4 separate regions of the Homo sapiens genome follow, and all the other regions are linked to region 4. The links are contacts of gene promoters, found by promoter capture Hi-C in blood cells and fetal thymus (Javierre and others, 2016). All regions are on one chromosome and are shown on one strand. The core of a region is centred on a gene start or on the middle of the fragment in contact, and the rest is flanking DNA. Distances in the headings are between cores, read along the strand shown.

Region 1 (3,905 bases), core at 651-3,150, 1.8 Mb before region 4:
AGCAACTGCTCCCTCTTCCTGAAATGCCTCCCCGCCCCTGCTCAGGTTCCTCCATCAGTCTGGACCTGAGCACCACCCTGACCATAGCACCCTCCACTCTGTAGGTGCTTGCAGGTTTTGATACTGGAGCACAGGCCGGGCGCAGTCACTCAAGCCTGTAATCCCAACACTTTGGGAGGACAAGGTGGGTGGATCACCTGAGGTTAGGAGTTCAAGACCAGCCTGGCCAATGTGGCGAAACTCCGTCTCTAGCAAAAATACAAAAATTAGCCACGCATGGTGGCGGGCACCTGTAATCTCAGCTACTTGGGAGGCTGAGGCAGAATAATCACTTGAACCTGGGAGGCGGAGGTTGCAGTGAGCCAAGGTAGCGCCACTACACTCCAGCCTGGGCAACAGAGTGAGACTCCATCTCAAAAAAAAAAAAGATACTAGGGAGCAAAGGCCACCCTGCCCCTGCCACACAGGAGGTACTCAGCCTCTTGGGACTACTTCCCTGACCCCCAATTCCCCAGGGAAGCTTAGCTGCTCCCACCTCAGGCTCCCATCACAGTTCTCAATCTTCACATTTGTTGGCCGTTGGGGTGTCTGCTCCACCTGAGCTTCAGGAAGACCAGAACAAGGTCTTTTGGCCGGTCTTCGTCAGCACAGGGCACGGCACAGAGTCGGCCTCAGGCATGTTTGCTAGGTGAGTGAATGAATGAATGATACTGGAGTAGTGGGCTTCTGCCTCACCTAGGGGTTCTGTTAAAATGCAGACTCTGATTCGGGGGCTCAGAGTGTGCTGAGATTCTGCCTTTCCATCAACTTGCAGGTGGTGCTGAGTCCCTGGGTACATGGAGGAGCAAAGACATGAACCTTTCCCTGCTCCTGGCAACTGGCTCCATCCTACTCCCTATGGGCTTCATGAACTTGCCTGTGGTTGGGGATACTTCCTGCCCTTATGGGCCCCAGAACCCCTATCTCTTAAAAAGGGAAATTTCCCTGGACATCTCTCAGTTGCTGTCCACCCTGTGAAATGAACCCAGGAAGCTATGGTTAGGTACCCTAGCCCGGTCTGGCCCAAATGCAAGTGTTCTGGCGGTGAACACTTAGCATAGGGTTTGGAGAGTCCCTCTCGGTGATGTGCTAAAGCAACCTATATGGCACCACCTCACCAGGGGGCACCGAGGCAAGCAGGATTCCCAGAAGTCACAGACCCGAAGAGAGAAAAAGAACCAGTCCCTGGGCTTGACATGAGACAAAGGAGACCAGAATGGACACACGGCAGCCACTCTCCTATCAAGTTTTCCACATCACCTTCATCCCCTCATTTCAGCCATACCAACAACCCAGCAAGGCAGAGGCAGCAGGCCTCCCATTTGCCTTACAATGGAGGGACTAAGCCCAGAGAGGTGTGAGCACCTCACTAGCATCATCTAGCAGTGAGTAGGGTAGGCACAATGGTACCTGGCTCTGAATGCCTGGTCTAGGTTCTGTCCCTCACATGGCACTGGGTTAAGAGACATCCTGAGACATGCAGGGATACCCTTGGGAGTTTGGAGGAGCTTCAGGCACCATGCATAGCCAATAAATCAGAATAAACAACTAGTCAGGAAAATCAAATGCTTGGATTTTATTATTAAAATATTTTCAAAGCTGATGAAATTGGAAAATGACGAACCGAGACCTGACTCTATTGCTCATCCCCAAGTTAAGAGAGCCAGCTTTCAGCTCACCTGCTGGGCAACTTGACAGAAAGAATGCACACACACACACACACACACACACACACACTCACACACATACCTCCCCTCCTAGACCTTCCAAGCAGGGAGTCTCGCCCGAGTAACACATACCCTTTACTCGCATTCTTCCCTTGATTTATCAGGAGAGAATGGTCAGAACTTAACAGAAAAAAAAGGACCCAGGCTCTTGGGTTCTGAGAGGGGATGGGGTGAGGCTGTCTGTCATGATGACCTTGACCTTTTCCTTCCTGCACCTCCAGATTCCCTCTCCCCTTCTTTAAGAGTGGAGGAGGTGGTACCTAGGGGCCAGGACCCTCCATTTCAGTCTGTACAAACCACTAATTCCTTCTGTGCCCTTAGGCAAGTCACTCGCCCTGCCTGGTCAATAAAGTCTCCTTCTTTACTGAAAAATACATCAGCTTGCCTCATGTGGATGTCCTGAGACATAAATGACAGATGGGAAATGAGGGGCTTTGTAAGATTTAAAATGCTGTGTCCCTGAGAAGGATGTTGCACTGGTTTGGAGCCAGGATCTGATAAACAGGAGACAAATGAAACACTGGAATAAAAAAATACTTGTAACTTATATGAAAAAAATAAACGTATGTTATTAATATACAAAGAGCTCTAACCAATCAATAAGAAAAAATCCTGGGAAATTGATATGAACATAGGCAGATCAGAAATGAAGAAATTCAAGTGCTTATGAACATATTGGAGAATAATAATAGCTTACATTTACTTGGCCCTTATTTTGAGCCAGGAACTGTGCTGGCACTTTACATGAATGATGCCATTAAATCCTCCAATCCAATTAATAAGGTAAAGACCCATTACCATCCTCATTCTATAGATGAAGAAACTGAGGTCCAGGGAGGTTCAGCAACTTTCCCAGCATCACACAGCTTGAGAGTGCCAGAACAGGAATTCTCACTCACGCAGTCCGGCAGACCACAACCTCACTCACAGGGAACAGATTGCAAATCACAATAACTAGGAAGACATTGTTCCTTCACTTATCAAATTAGCCAAAATATTAAAGTTCGATTAACAATCAAATATTGGCGTGGGTATGAGAAAATATGCGTTTTCATGTATTATTGGTGCAATCTTTCTGGGGAGCAATTTGCCAATACCGGTAGATATTTTACATGTACCACTTGATGAAAAATTTATCCTACAGATATACTCACACCTGAACATAAAACTATACATACAAGGATATTTATTTTTATATGAGAAAAAGGAACTCTCATTCATTGCTAGTAGGAATACGAAATTGTACAGAGATAGTTTGGCAGTTTCTTATGAAGCTAAACATAGTCTTACAGCAATGTTGCCCTGCGTATTTAACCAACTGAAGTAAACATATGTCCACATCAAAACCTGCACATGAATATTTATAGTAGTTTTATTCATAATAGTCAAAACCTGAAAGCAACCAAGATGCCCTTTGGTAGATGAATAAATGGCAGTATGCCCAGACAACAGAACATTTTTCAGCACTAAAAAGAAATGAGTTCTCAAGCTATGAAAATACATGGAGGAAGCTTAAATCCATATTGCTAGGTGAAAGAAGCCTGTCTGAAAAGGCTACATGCTACATGAAGCCAACTCTGTGACATTCAGGAAAACTATAGAGACAGTAAAAAGATCAGTGGTTGCCAGGAGTCCTGGGGAAGGTAAGAGGGGTGAATGGACGGAGCACAGGGGATTTTTAGGTGGTCCAACTATTCTGTATGCTACTGGAGTGGGAGATACACCACATGGATTTTCAAAATCCAGAGAAGTGTCCAACACAAAGAGTAAACTTTAAACCATGAACTTTAGGAAACAGTAATGCATCAATATTGGTGCATTAATTGTAACAAATGTACCATGTTGTACACTATGCAAGCTCATAATAGGAGAAAGTGTATGAGAGTGAGAAAGTGTAGGGGAACTCTGTATTTTCTGCATACTTTTTCTCTTAATTAAATCTCATCTAAGAAATAAATCTATTAAGTTAAAAAAAATGTGAGGTGTAACATAAAGTCCAGAAAAAGAAGTCTGGTTTAATTTTAAAAGGCACTTGTATACTATGCCATACAATATGCCCAGGAAGAAAATAAAGAAAATATTGTTATATGTGGCAGTATTATCTACAAGACATATCTTAATTTTTTTTTTCTTTTTTTG
Region 2 (4,069 bases), core at 639-3,138, 1.8 Mb before region 4:
TTCCACTTCCAGTCTCCTGTCAGTCCCTCCCATTGACCAAACCCAACTGGAGCCCTGCCAGCAAAGGAGCCATCAGCTTCCCCTGGCACAGGGAAGAGCAGAGAACCACAGTAGAGAATGCATCTGGGTGGGGTGTGAGCAAAATAGTCGACACATAGAATCATCAATAGCAAGAGTATTCCAGAGCTACAGATTAAAAGGAAGCCCGAGGAACTGCTCCACACCTAGACAGGTACTGCAAAATTTCAAAACACCAAAAAAAAAAAAAAAAAAAAAAAAAAAAAAAGATTCTAAAATGTTCCATGGGTGGGAGCAGGAAGAGAAAGGTTGCCTACAAAGGAAAGGAGAGACAGAGACCATTCTCAGTCTTGTCAACAACATAGGATGATGGAAGACTCTGAAAAGATGGAGCTATATTTTTAGGACTCCTGGAAATATATTTTGAACCTAAAACGCTCATCTCAGCGATAATATCAAGTGTAAAGGTAGAATAAGGATATTTCTAAACTTGCAAGCTTACATTTCCTGAATCCTTTCTGAGAGAGTTCATTAAGGAAGTGTATTAGTCCATTTTCACACTGCTATAAAGAACTACCTAAGACTGGGTGATTTATAAACAAAACAGCTTTAATTGACTCGCAGTTCCACATGGCTGGGGAGGCCTCAGAAAACTTACAACCATGGCAGAGGGGGAAGCAAGGTACATCTTACATGGCGGCAGGAGAGAGGCTAGGGACTCCCAAACACTTTTAAACCATCAGATCTCGTGGAAACTTACCATCATGAGAACAGCATGAGGTAAACTGCCCCCATAATCCGATTACCTCCCACCAGGTACCTCCCTCGGCATGTGGAGATGACAATTAGAGATGAGATTTGGGTGGGGACACAGAGCCAAACCATATTAGAAGGTACTCCAGCACAACTGGTATAAAATCAAGCAAGGAGAGATGAGGTCAAAGAAATGGTTGAACAGGCCCAGGAGCCTGGGATTTTCTTTCCCTACGCAAATAGTAAACCTGCATTACTGTATTTCTAGGGGAATTACAGGGATCGATGCCATGATTAAAGACATGAAAGATGCAGGGACAGGGAGGCCTGTCACATTTCTGCCCACTTGGCTCACCTCTTTAGCTCTTTAGCCTGTGCAGGAAGTTGCTGAATCTTGGAGAATGACTGTATGTCGTCGTAAATTTAATCAGGCAGTAACTCCAATTTTAGCTGCTTTTCTAAATGCAACATAGAACAACTTAACCACTCTCAGCACTTAGTATGTAGCTATTGACTCAGCTTGTGTTTTCTCCCCATCTGTATCGGTAAGAACCAGCAGAAGTTTGCTTTCACCTGGCAAGGATAGAAGTACAAAGTCAGTGTCTTCTCCCAGATCATGTTCGTTTTCCAGCTTTCTGTTATAGTGTGGTCTACAGAGACCTTGATCTTCTGAACATCCCACAGATCCACAGATGGTATGCTGGTGCACTACACTGGTAGCACATGCTGATTGAACTGATGAGCAGGGAGAATAAACCAGATGCCTTCATAAGATGCATGCAGCACATGGGCATGGGTGGGACAGTAGCCATCATAGCCCGGGTAGTCTAAGCTAAGCACACGGGATATGTACCAGATGGCACCCATCTGGCGTGGGGGAGCCTGGCATGGCATGTCAGAGCCAGAATAGGACAAAGAGTGGCCATGCAGGGAGGCAGGGGCACGGTGGCCTAGCACAGGGTGTTAGAGTCCAAGTACTGTCAAATGAAAGTCCACATGGCAGAAGGGGACAACCAAGTGTGGATGTCAGAGCCACACAGAATGAGTGGAGGGGCAGAGTTCTGCTATGGAAGATTGGGTATATGCAGGGGGACCAACTGAGCAAAGTTGGGAGCCAGTTTTCTCACTCATGGAGAAGGCAGTCATGAATATGGAAGGAGGGAAACCCAGAATAAGCCCTGTGGTTTTGATTAGAATTGAAAGTATTGAAGTGAGCTCATGGTTTTCTATATAGAGAGATAAATATTGATCTAATAGTGTGTGTGCATATATATCCTTGCTCTGTCCACTGAGAGAGTCTAGGAGCAGTGATACCCCAATAGCAATGAACACTCCTAGCACCCATATATTGACTTCTAAATGCCATTCTCCATTAAAAGAATCCAAGTCTCCTTCGGAAAATGGCTGATTCCAGGGCAAGGGCTGGGAAAGCCCAAGATAAACCTGAAAGATCTTGGGAGCTAGAAAGTAATGAAGTACTCTAAGAATGAAGGGTGCAGGCCAGAAAAGCCCAGAACCTGGCTTGAAGGGGCCCTTGATGGCCAAATCTTCGACCATGTGAGCATCAAAGTAAATAATAATGATGATGGATAATAACCTACTGAATAAAATAAAAATCTGAGTCCATTTCAATATAACTAAATGATGGAGTAAAGTGACAGTTTGATGAGGAATGGAATATATTCATGGTTTCAGTGTGCCTCATCACAAAATATTTGTTTATTACAAAGAGAAGAGTCACCTTACAGTGGAGAAGGCTGGCAGTCACCTCTGTAATCAAATGATCATAGCGAACACCATCTCTAATCCTAGAGTGAAATTACTCACCGCATGACAGGATGCAAGGAAAACGCAGCACAGCTTCTGTGATCTTCCTGCTGAAGGTGCATGCAAGTGAATCCAACCCTGAAGAAGCATCAGCCTCAACCCAGGTGAGGGACATACTACAGAATAACTGGCCTGTCATCTGGAAACATAAGGCCATGGAAGTCAAGGAAAGAAGGGAGAACCATTCCAGATTGAAGGAGACCAGAGACAGGAGAATGAAACCTGTGTATCTTGGGACAGCTGATGAAACTTTAGTGGAGCCTGCAGATGAGGCGGTAGCAAGGTGTTCATGCAAATTGCCGGGATCATGCTTTCAAATGGCATAGAAAAATTAATGTTCTTTATCCTCACTTTCAACTTTTCTATAAGTTTAAGATGATTTAAATTATATTTTTAAAGGTGTCAAAAATTTTCTTCATCTTTATAGAATGAAACAGAAATAAAAATTGAAAGTGGTAACCTCTGGAAATAGAACTGGGGGAAAGAAGGAAAGAATATCAACGGGAGTTATCTGACCCATAGGATTTTAGGTCATTTTTTGCTTTGTTTCCTTTTCTAAATTTCTCTCTATTAAAAAAGAATGAATGATTACAACTTTATAAAGGAAAGAATCCATAAAATATATGTAATTAAATCCCATGGTACAAAGGGCAAAGAAGCTTGGCAACAACGCTTCCAGCCTCAGTTTTGTCATATGTAAAATGGAGCAAAGATGGGTTCAGGCTCATTACAAACTGGTGAGGGTTCAAATAATTAAGGGATAGGGATAGAATATCAAAGTATTTTCAAAGCCACATAGAAGGGAGGTGTGAGGGAGGGTTCCTAGGACTTCAAAGTCGGAAGCCGATAAGGGCCTGGCCTTCCCAGAAGCCTTCTAAGTAGAGATTCTGGCCAGCAGGGCTGCTGAAGTGGGCACACCTGCTGTAGGAGGCGTCTCCTTGGGCCCTGAGGGATCACCTGTTCTTTGTTTGCCTTTGCTTCTCTGCTGAGGCCATAAAGAGGCTGGGCTGTAAAATAACCTACTCTGGCCCCAGGAAAGAGATAAGAGATGTCAACTGGGCAGCCAACACCTTCCCTGCCTCCCACCCCAAACAGCTGGCCCTGCCCTCCCCACCCCCACCTCTTCTTCTCTCCAGAGTAAAGCTGGACTTCCCTACTGCCTCCTGCCTGTCCCTTCTCACCAATGCTGCCACCCTTTTTCTCCACTCTATTTCAAGGAAGTAGCCATCTGCCACTAAAACTTTATCCCATGGTCCAATCCATGAGCTTGAATCCAACCAGCCCAGAGCAGCATTTTCCCCCTTGATAGAGAATAAGAGAAAGACAAAGACAAAGGCACATTATTTCCCTAAAGTCCTATATTCCCTGTCTTCTGTGAACCAGTGAAATTATCAACCCACAGTGGGTCAGCTGCCCTTCTGTGGAGCACATCAGAGGAAAAATACCAACGCAGCCCTGGCTGCACACTTTG
Region 3 (4,082 bases), core at 922-3,421, 1.2 Mb after region 4:
TATTCTGTCACTTCTGTGATCTTACAAGCAGGTCCCTCTGCTTAGAATTCTCTTACCCATTCCAAACTCAGACAAAGTTTCTCTTTTCTGAAGCTTTCCCCTACCCTCTGACAGCAATAGGCTCTTGCATCTCCTGTGTACCCCCAAACCAATATTTCTAATGTCATTATTATAGTAGTTATTGATTTGGATTTTAATCCATTTTCCCTACCATTTCCTAGCCCTTACTCTAAGCTGGGCATTATTTTAAACACCCCACCCAAGGGGTTCTTCCTGCCCACTGCATAAAGAAAGACCATAGCATTGTGGTAGAAAAAGAGCTTAATAGACACGAGGCCGACCATGCCAGGTGGGAGATGGAGTGCATGCTCAGGTCATCTGATCCAAAGTCCGAAGCTCATAGGCTGGGGGTTTTTCAAACGCAGTTTGGAGGAAGGGGTGGGAGTGGCCAGGTAACAGGTGCTTGCTGCTGATTGGTTGAGGCTGAGATGAAATCATAGGGGGAGTCAAAGCTGTCCTCCTGCAGTCTGAATCACTTCTGGGTGGGGCTGTGGGAGTGGGGTTGGCGGTCCAGGTGGAGCCATGGGTGTCAGACATGCAAAAAACCTGGAAAGATATCTCAAAAAGCTACAAATAGTGGTTGTATTAGTCTGCTCTCGTGCTGCTAATAAAGACATACCCAAGACTGGGTAATTTATAAAGGAAAGAGGTTTAATTGACTCACAGTTAAGCATGGCTGGGGAGGCCTCTGGAAACTTACAATCATGGTGACAGGGGGAGCAAACATGTCCTACTTCACATGGTGGCAGCAAGGAGAAGTGCAGAGTGAAGGAGGGGGAAAGCCCCTTATAAAACCATCAGATCTCGTGAGAACTCACTATCAGAACAGCATGGAGGTAACCACCCTCACGATTCAGTTATCTCCCACCGGCTTCCTCCCACAACATGTAGGGATTATGGAAACTACAATTCAGGATGAGATTTGGGTGGGGACACAGCCAAACCATATCAGTGGTGTTATTTGCAGGAGTAATTGGGAAAGTTGAGTATCTTATAACCTCCAGAATAATGACTGACAATCGTTCATATCTGCGCCTTAGCAGGACTCAGGCTCCTCTCCTCCCCCACAGCCTGATAGCTTCCCATTAGCTTTACAAAAACAGTTGAGTTTCAGGCAAGGTCTGTTATCATGTAAACTATAGCCTAAATGTCTCTCAAAGTTAGCTGGCCCCAGTAGCTTAGAAATAATTAAGGGAAAGGCAAGATAGGTGTTGGAATGGGGGCGTTAACTCAGACCTCTTTCACTGTCATAATTTTCTAACTGATATAATTTTTGCAAAGGTGGTTTCATTGTCTTGAGTGCTTTACTAATGTTAACTTGTTTAACTATGACGATATTCATCCTTGCGCCTTTATTTCACATTTCGTGTTCAATATAAGGAATTCTCCCAATGACCTACAGAACAGAGGTCTGAGTTGACTCTCACTTTTCAAAACTTCTGGGTAACGGCAGTGCAACAAAACCGGTTTGGTTCTCTGATCCTTATAAATGGGGAAAACTCATGAAAAATAATTAGATGTATTGGAAACACAATAAATACTTTGTAAAAATTATAAATCAAAAAAGAAGCAAAAGCATATTATTTAGAACTGTGTTGGCAACCACTAGAAAAACATGTTAAATGTATGTTGAATAAATGAATCAGCAAGCTTAAAAGCAATGAATGTATAAAACCATCCATTGTGAACTGTTACCAGGAAGGATTCCCGATCCAGATGCCGAGAGAGTTCTTAGACCTTGAGTAAGAAAGAATTCGGGGCAAGTCCATAGAGTAAAGTGAAAGCAAGTTTATTAGGAGAGTAAAGGAATAAAGAATGGCTACTCCATAGGCAGAACAGCAACTTGGGCTGCTTGATGAGAATACTTATAGTTATTTCTTGATTATATGCTAAAGAAGGGGTAGATTATTCCTGAGTTTTCTAGGAAAGGGGTGGGTAATTCCCAGAACTGAGGGTTCTTCCCATTTTTAAACCATATAGGGTAACTTTCTGATATTGCCATGGCATTTGTAAGCTGTCATGTGCTGATAGGAGTGTCTCTTAGCATGCTAATGCATTATAATTAGCATATAAGGAAGAGTGAGGATGACCAGACATCACTTTCATTGCCATCTTGGTTTTCGTGGGTTTTGGCCAGCTTCTTTACCGCAAACTGTTTAATCAGCAAGGTCTTTGTCACCTGTATCTTGTGCCAACCTCCTACCTCATCCTGTGACTTAGAATGCCTGCCCTCTTGGGAATACAGCTCAGTAGGTCTCAGCCTTATTTCACCCAGCCCCAATTCAAGATGGAATCACTCTGGTTCAAATGCCTCTGACATATTTCTCCCTTCCCTTTTACAAGGGAACGCCTAATCCAAAGGGTAGTAGAGGGACAAAGATCCATCTTCTGTAACTTCTTCAAGCTGAATAAGGGCTATGCTACTCCTACCTAACTATTATGGTCTCTTGTATTCAGGGTAGTGAGGAGCTCAGTCAGAAGGCATCACTATGGTGAGGGACATTCATAACTCTTGAGGGCAAAAGGTGATATCTGGAAGATTAAAAAGTATTCAATTTAATTAAACATTGAGTAAGCTTATCCTGCACTCCCACACGGAGTACAACAGCAATATGTTCCACAACGGTAAAGCAAAATAAGTAAAACTATCCCAAGTAAACTAAATTAGAAGGCTTTCCATGAACTCGGCAACAGCTGGAACTGGGCAAGCTGATATGAAGTTGCTGTACATGCTATATGTTCCAATTAGAATTAGAATATTGATCCAGATTTTTACATTACCCATTTCTGTTATTTTTTTTCTGAGCAGCAGCCAGAGATCACTGGTTAGTTGGCAGGAAAAAGTAGGGTTAGTCTAAATTGCAAGGAAGAAAAAACCCTTAAAAATAACTGATGAGACTAGAATCTAATAACAGGTGTACCATAGTTGAAACATAACTTTTTTCTCTCTTCAGGCTCCCACTTTTATTAAAGACAAATCATGGTAAGACTGATTTGCTTCCAACTAAATAAATTTAGTTTTATACTTGGCCTGATTCTTCGTAAAAAGGGCAGCAAGAATAATTATTTTTCACATGGGTTTTTTTTTTGTAATTGGATTTGATGGATCTTTGTTCTATAAGGAATTTTAAATAAGACTTTTTTTAAAACTGAGCCCAGCCATGGGTTGCTGCCATCAAATACCTGTAAGTTGGGTAAATTCCTCTCCTCCTGAGGTCCCAAGATATTGGTGCTCCTGGGCCTCTCAGAAAGTTGCATTCTTTACTTATTACAGACCAAGAACCCTGTACAAGGACTGTGTAGACAAGGTATGAGGCCAGTTTTCCCAAGGGGCTTTTATTGTCTCTATAAGTCAAGTTTGATTCCTTGAAGCAGTTTGTTTATATTTGAAAGCATGCCATTCCAGTCAAAGGCTTGGTAAAATAATCAGTTCCTCCAACTGTGTCCTGTTGTAAAAGAAAACAGATTCTTACTGCACTTATGTAAATAACTATATTGCCATAAGAATACTCACAAATAGTTTCCAAATTCTGGAGAAATCAGGTAGAGAGAAATATGCTTCAAATTTTGTTTATAGGCATACTCAGCTGCTACAAGTTGTAAATAAAAGTTTTCTTGACTGTGAAAAACAAAACAAAGGATCAGCAACACTTTAAGAAAAAAAGTCAAAAAGATTACTTCAGGCTTCTATTAGTTTACTCCATGCAGTTGACTCCTGTTCTGCTTGATAGTCATGAATATTTCAGCTCTCCATGAGAGTCCTAAATGTTTTTTCCTCTATTCTAATGTCACAATCTCCTAAGTTATTCAGAAACCTGCATTTAAGAGCACCTGTCAAAGTCGTATAGTTGATTATAAACCACCTTTTGAAGAGGAACAATACAAGATAACACTTGTCTGTGGATGACAAAAAACCTTAGGACAGTCACTATTAAAGTCACAATTGACTAGGAATTTTGGTTACTTTTGTGCATACAAAGACTTGTCATAATTATAATTATTAACAATATACACTAAGTCAT
Region 4 (3,964 bases), core at 853-3,352:
GTATATCCAACCACCAACTTAACATCAGTTTTGGGCATCTCAAAAGCCTTCAAACAGCCAAACAGCCTGCTCTCATGATATTTTAATGCCAGTCTGGTCCTTTTCCAAGATTCCCATCTTGGTAAACCAGCACTAACATCCATCCTTGGCCACAAGCCAGAAACCTTTGAGTTTTCCTTGATGACTCCCTCTCCTTCATTGCCCCACATAACCCATCACTTGGAGAATGTGCAAGTTCTGCCCGTTGGACCTCCTAAATAATTCACAGATCTTTCCATGTCCATCAACTATTTCCATGACCATCACCCTAGATCAAGCTTCCACCTCTTACCGTCTAGGCTACTCCTACATCCACCTGGGCTCTTTCCAATAAGGAATCTTTTCAAGAAGCTATTCTGACCATGCCACACCCTTTGCTGAATATGTCAGGGGCTTCCCATTGCACTTAGGATAAAAAGATTTTCAACATGGCCAATATGGATGTCCTACGTTTGGTCCCTTTACCAATCTTCCTGACTTCATCTCATAGCTCCTTCTTCCTTGCTCCTCCAGCAGAGCTGGCCTTTCCTGAATTTCTCCATCTTATCCTGCTTAATCTCATCAGAGGACCTTTGCGTGCAAAGCTACCTCTAAAATATTCTCTGTCTAGTCAAACCTATTCCCAGCTCAAGTGACAGTTCCTCAGGGAAATCTTTTCTGGCCTTATTAACTAGTGTATTAATTGGTTTCATAGTATTATGTATCCTTAACAATTTGTATTATAAAACAGTGATAATTTTGCGTTTACTATTATTACTTTCATAGTACAGTGATTAAATCTGTAAACTCTACTGTATTGCCTGGCACTGAATGGGCATGCAATAAATAATTATTGCAGGAACAAAGGATGGCAGGAAGGAAATTAAGAAGGTTGAGAGGGAGGGAGAGAGGAAATGGGAAGAGAATGAATGAATAATCATCTGTATGTTCCCTTTCAGAATCACCAGAAACAGGCCAGCCCCACATGTAATAGGAAAGTAGTTTACCTGAAATCATTCATTTATTCAACAAATATTTATATATTCATTATTAAAGTAACTTACTTGTTTCTGATTGTGAACATAACTATTCCTCTCGGAAAACATGAGAAAATACCCAAAGTATAAACGAGAACCAAGTCACCCTTTATTCCATAGTCCAATGATGAACCATTGTTAACATAATTTGGTGTATTTCTTTCCAGGTTTTTTCTATGTGTATATATAGTATCTAAGTGGGACCATTCTATATATGACTTGTTTCTTGCTTCTTTCTCTTAATGATACATTGTGAACATGTTCCTATGTTGTTAAGAATTCCTTGAACACATGGCATTTAAATTGCTAAAATGTATTCTACCGAATGGTGTAGGTAGTTCAAACGCCTTTCCACCCGTTGTTGGATATTTAAAGGACTTGTCAATTTATCGCTTCTGTAACATTTACACGCTTTGTGGGGCCTCAGAAGTAAACCAGGTAATGCAAGGAATCTGGGAAGAGGTGGATTTGCAAGGAATCTCGGAGGAGGTGGATTTTGGAAAAACTGGAGGCAGCTTTTCCCGGGCAGCTGAAGAGAACACTTATCTCTCTGTAGGTTTCTGGGACCCGGACAGGTGTCCTCAGAATGGAACATATTGTCGGTCAAGGTAACCAGCTCTTCATCACTCAGGTGTGTGTACCGGAAGGGGGTGCCTGTTCGCTGCGCAGGTTAGGCCTAAGCGCACCTGCCCTTCAACCCTGTGCCGACGAGGCCCGAAGGCTTAAGCTCTGACCTGGCTACCGCCGCCAACCAGATGCGGTCCCCTGGGGCCACGCGCCGCCACGTGCCGCCACAGGGCCCGCCCCTCCCGCTCCAGGCCACGCCCCTCACCCACAGCCCTCGGAGGCTCTCTCCGCGGCTCCGCCTCCAAGCGACCTCCGCAAGTCCTCTCGTAACCCCTGGAGTAGCGCCGTCCCCGGGCGGCGGCCCCGCCCCCGCAATCCGGGCCCCGGGGCTGCCCCGCCCCGCCGGCCGCTCGGGAGGCGCGGGGGCGGGGCCCTGCGCGATGACGTGCGCGGGCGTGCGCGGTGACGGCCCGCGTCTCTGTTACTCAGCCGAGCGGCCGAGGCCGGACGACGCGGCTTGGATTGCGGAGCCGCGAGCAGCGCTGGGTAACGGCCGCGGCGACCACCCCGGACGGCCCCTGTCCCCGCTGGCGGGCTTCCCTGTCGCCGTTCGCTGCGCTGCCGGGTGAGTGCGGCGGACGCCGCAGGGCCGGGACGGCAGGCGGCCCCGTCGTGTTTATGTTATTGTGCCGCTGCCGCCGCCGCCGCCTTCTCCTCAGCCGTAACCCCCTCCTGGGAGTGGGGGCGGGAGCGCGCGGTGGGCGGGGGCGGCGCGGGAACAATAGCGGCGCGGAGGCGGGGGCCAGCCGAGGGGGCGTGGGGCTGCGGGACCTGGGTGCGCTCCGCTGCCCGCCAGCCCGCCTGCCGCCGCGAGCCCCGCCCGCCTGTCCTCTCGCGTCCTCTTCGCGTGGGTCCTGCCTCCGCGGCGGGAGAAGAAAATGGAGCGGGGGGGTGGGTGGCAAGTTCTGAAACACTTCGGCAAGGGTCGGACGGAGGTGTCTTTGCGGCCCGCCGCGCCCTGGCTGCCTCCGGGGCGGCGGGGAGCCGGGGAGAGCGCTTCTGCCGGCAGGTCCCCAAGCCTGCCCCGCGCCCATAGGGACCGTATTTTGCTTCTCGATGCTTTCTTTGTGCTAACGTTCTGGGCGAACGCAGGCAGCAGCGCTGAAAAGGGCCAGAGTGGCCTGCAGCTCTGGGCTGCAGGGCAGAGAGCCCAGGCCCGTGGCTCGGGTGGGAGGTGTCCATCCAGCTTGGCCCGAGCTTCGGTGGTCAGCGCGCATTTCTCTTGAGGGTCATCGGTGGTGACCTTTTGACTTTTTCACCCCACCCTCCCATCTCTTTGTCTCGCATTTGTGTTCCCGATTCAGAGATGGTAGAACCAAGTCCATTTTAAAGTACCCTGATGAACACTTTCCGTTTTTATTTCTGAAAGTTCCCTGCTTGGTCTTTACTGCGAATTTAATAACATGTTGACTACATGGCATTGTCCAGTGATTACTATTTTTACCTCTGAAATCCAGCGATCTTTCCAGTAGAATTCTGGTCCGTCAGTCCATTGTGTTTTGAGATAAGCATCCAGCAAGTACCTCCTTGGCAATTAGAACATCTGTTTTTTCATTCATTCATTCATTCAGCAGCTGTTTAGTACCGTACTCAGATGAAGAGGTTTGGTGTGAAGGTAAAGTATCCTTTCATGGAAGAGGATGCTTTGACTGAAGTATAATAGATGGACCTTTAAATGAGACAGTTACATAAGTGATGTCTGTTAAGGAAGGTATGGTTATATTCTGGGTCATTTTTTAAGCAGTATATCTGGAAGTTCAAGTGTAATAGGAAGTAGAATTAGATTTGGTCTAAATATACAACAGCTTTTATTTATTTCTAAATTTTATTTTTTCCAGTCTTGCAGCCTTACAGTCATTTGTAATGGTTACCTCAGATTCCCCTGCTGTGGTTAACGTTAAACCTAGGAGGTCAGATGCTCTAAGTGAACATGTTTAGTGCTGTGCCTGACAAAAGCAAGCAATCAAAATGGGACTTCCTTGAGGGCAGGCCTGTCTTGCATCTGTTTCTCCACCACCTAGCCTGGAATATAGTAAGTGTTCAATAAAAGTCGGATTGATGAAAAGCTCTTTGTAATTGATAATATTTAAAATCAAGCCTTAAAAAAAACCGTAATGTTCTCCATAAAGTTTTGGAAGCTTCATGCAACTGTCGCATCAGATGGCTAAATGGTCAGTTCATGTACATTATCTGTTATGATGACATGGGCTTTTGAATCACGTGTAGGTCATTCACTGTCCTAAAATAAAATCTTGTCTAAATATTTTTTTAATATGATAAAT

Evidence for each region. The method cuts DNA at HindIII sites, captures the fragments that hold promoters and counts their contacts. A CHiCAGO score of 5 or more calls a contact.
Region 1: a fragment that was not itself captured here is called in contact with the fragment with the promoter of MAPK8 in region 4 in 2 of 17 cell types (M0 macrophages and M1 macrophages); the score reaches 7.3 in M0 macrophages.
Region 2: a fragment that was not itself captured here is called in contact with the fragment with the promoter of MAPK8 in region 4 in 5 of 17 cell types (erythroblasts, M1 macrophages, M2 macrophages and 2 more); the score reaches 11.2 in erythroblasts.
Region 3: a fragment that was not itself captured here is called in contact with the fragment with the promoter of MAPK8 in region 4 in 8 of 17 cell types (total CD4 T cells, naive CD4 T cells, total CD8 T cells and 5 more); the score reaches 11.5 in total CD4 T cells.

What each region holds. Positions count from the first base shown.
Region 1 is chr10:46,535,727-46,539,631 of GRCh38, forward strand. LOC124902419 (a long non-coding RNA gene) reads left to right here and starts at 1,543. Exons shown (of 2, transcript XR_007062138.1): 1 at 1,543-3,905. RefSeq lists an enhancer at 95-596. The HindIII fragment of the contact is 2,757 bases long and covers 523-3,279 here.
Region 2 is chr10:46,470,444-46,474,512 of GRCh38, forward strand. It overlaps a transcript of NPY4R not described here. Among named protein-coding and RNA genes, the nearest start is that of NPY4R, 6.5 kb to the left of the region's middle. The HindIII fragment of the contact is 2,742 bases long and covers 518-3,259 here.
Region 3 is chr10:49,541,478-49,545,559 of GRCh38, forward strand. No RefSeq gene overlaps it. Among named protein-coding and RNA genes, the nearest start is that of ERCC6, 4.4 kb to the left of the region's middle. The HindIII fragment of the contact is 926 bases long and covers 1,709-2,634 here.
Region 4 is chr10:48,304,575-48,308,538 of GRCh38, forward strand. It overlaps MAPK8 (mitogen-activated protein kinase 8), which reads left to right and starts at 2,103. Exons shown (of 12, transcript NM_001323329.2): 1 at 2,103-2,247. RefSeq lists a silencer at 1,734-2,683. The HindIII fragment of the contact is 3,503 bases long and covers 316-3,818 here.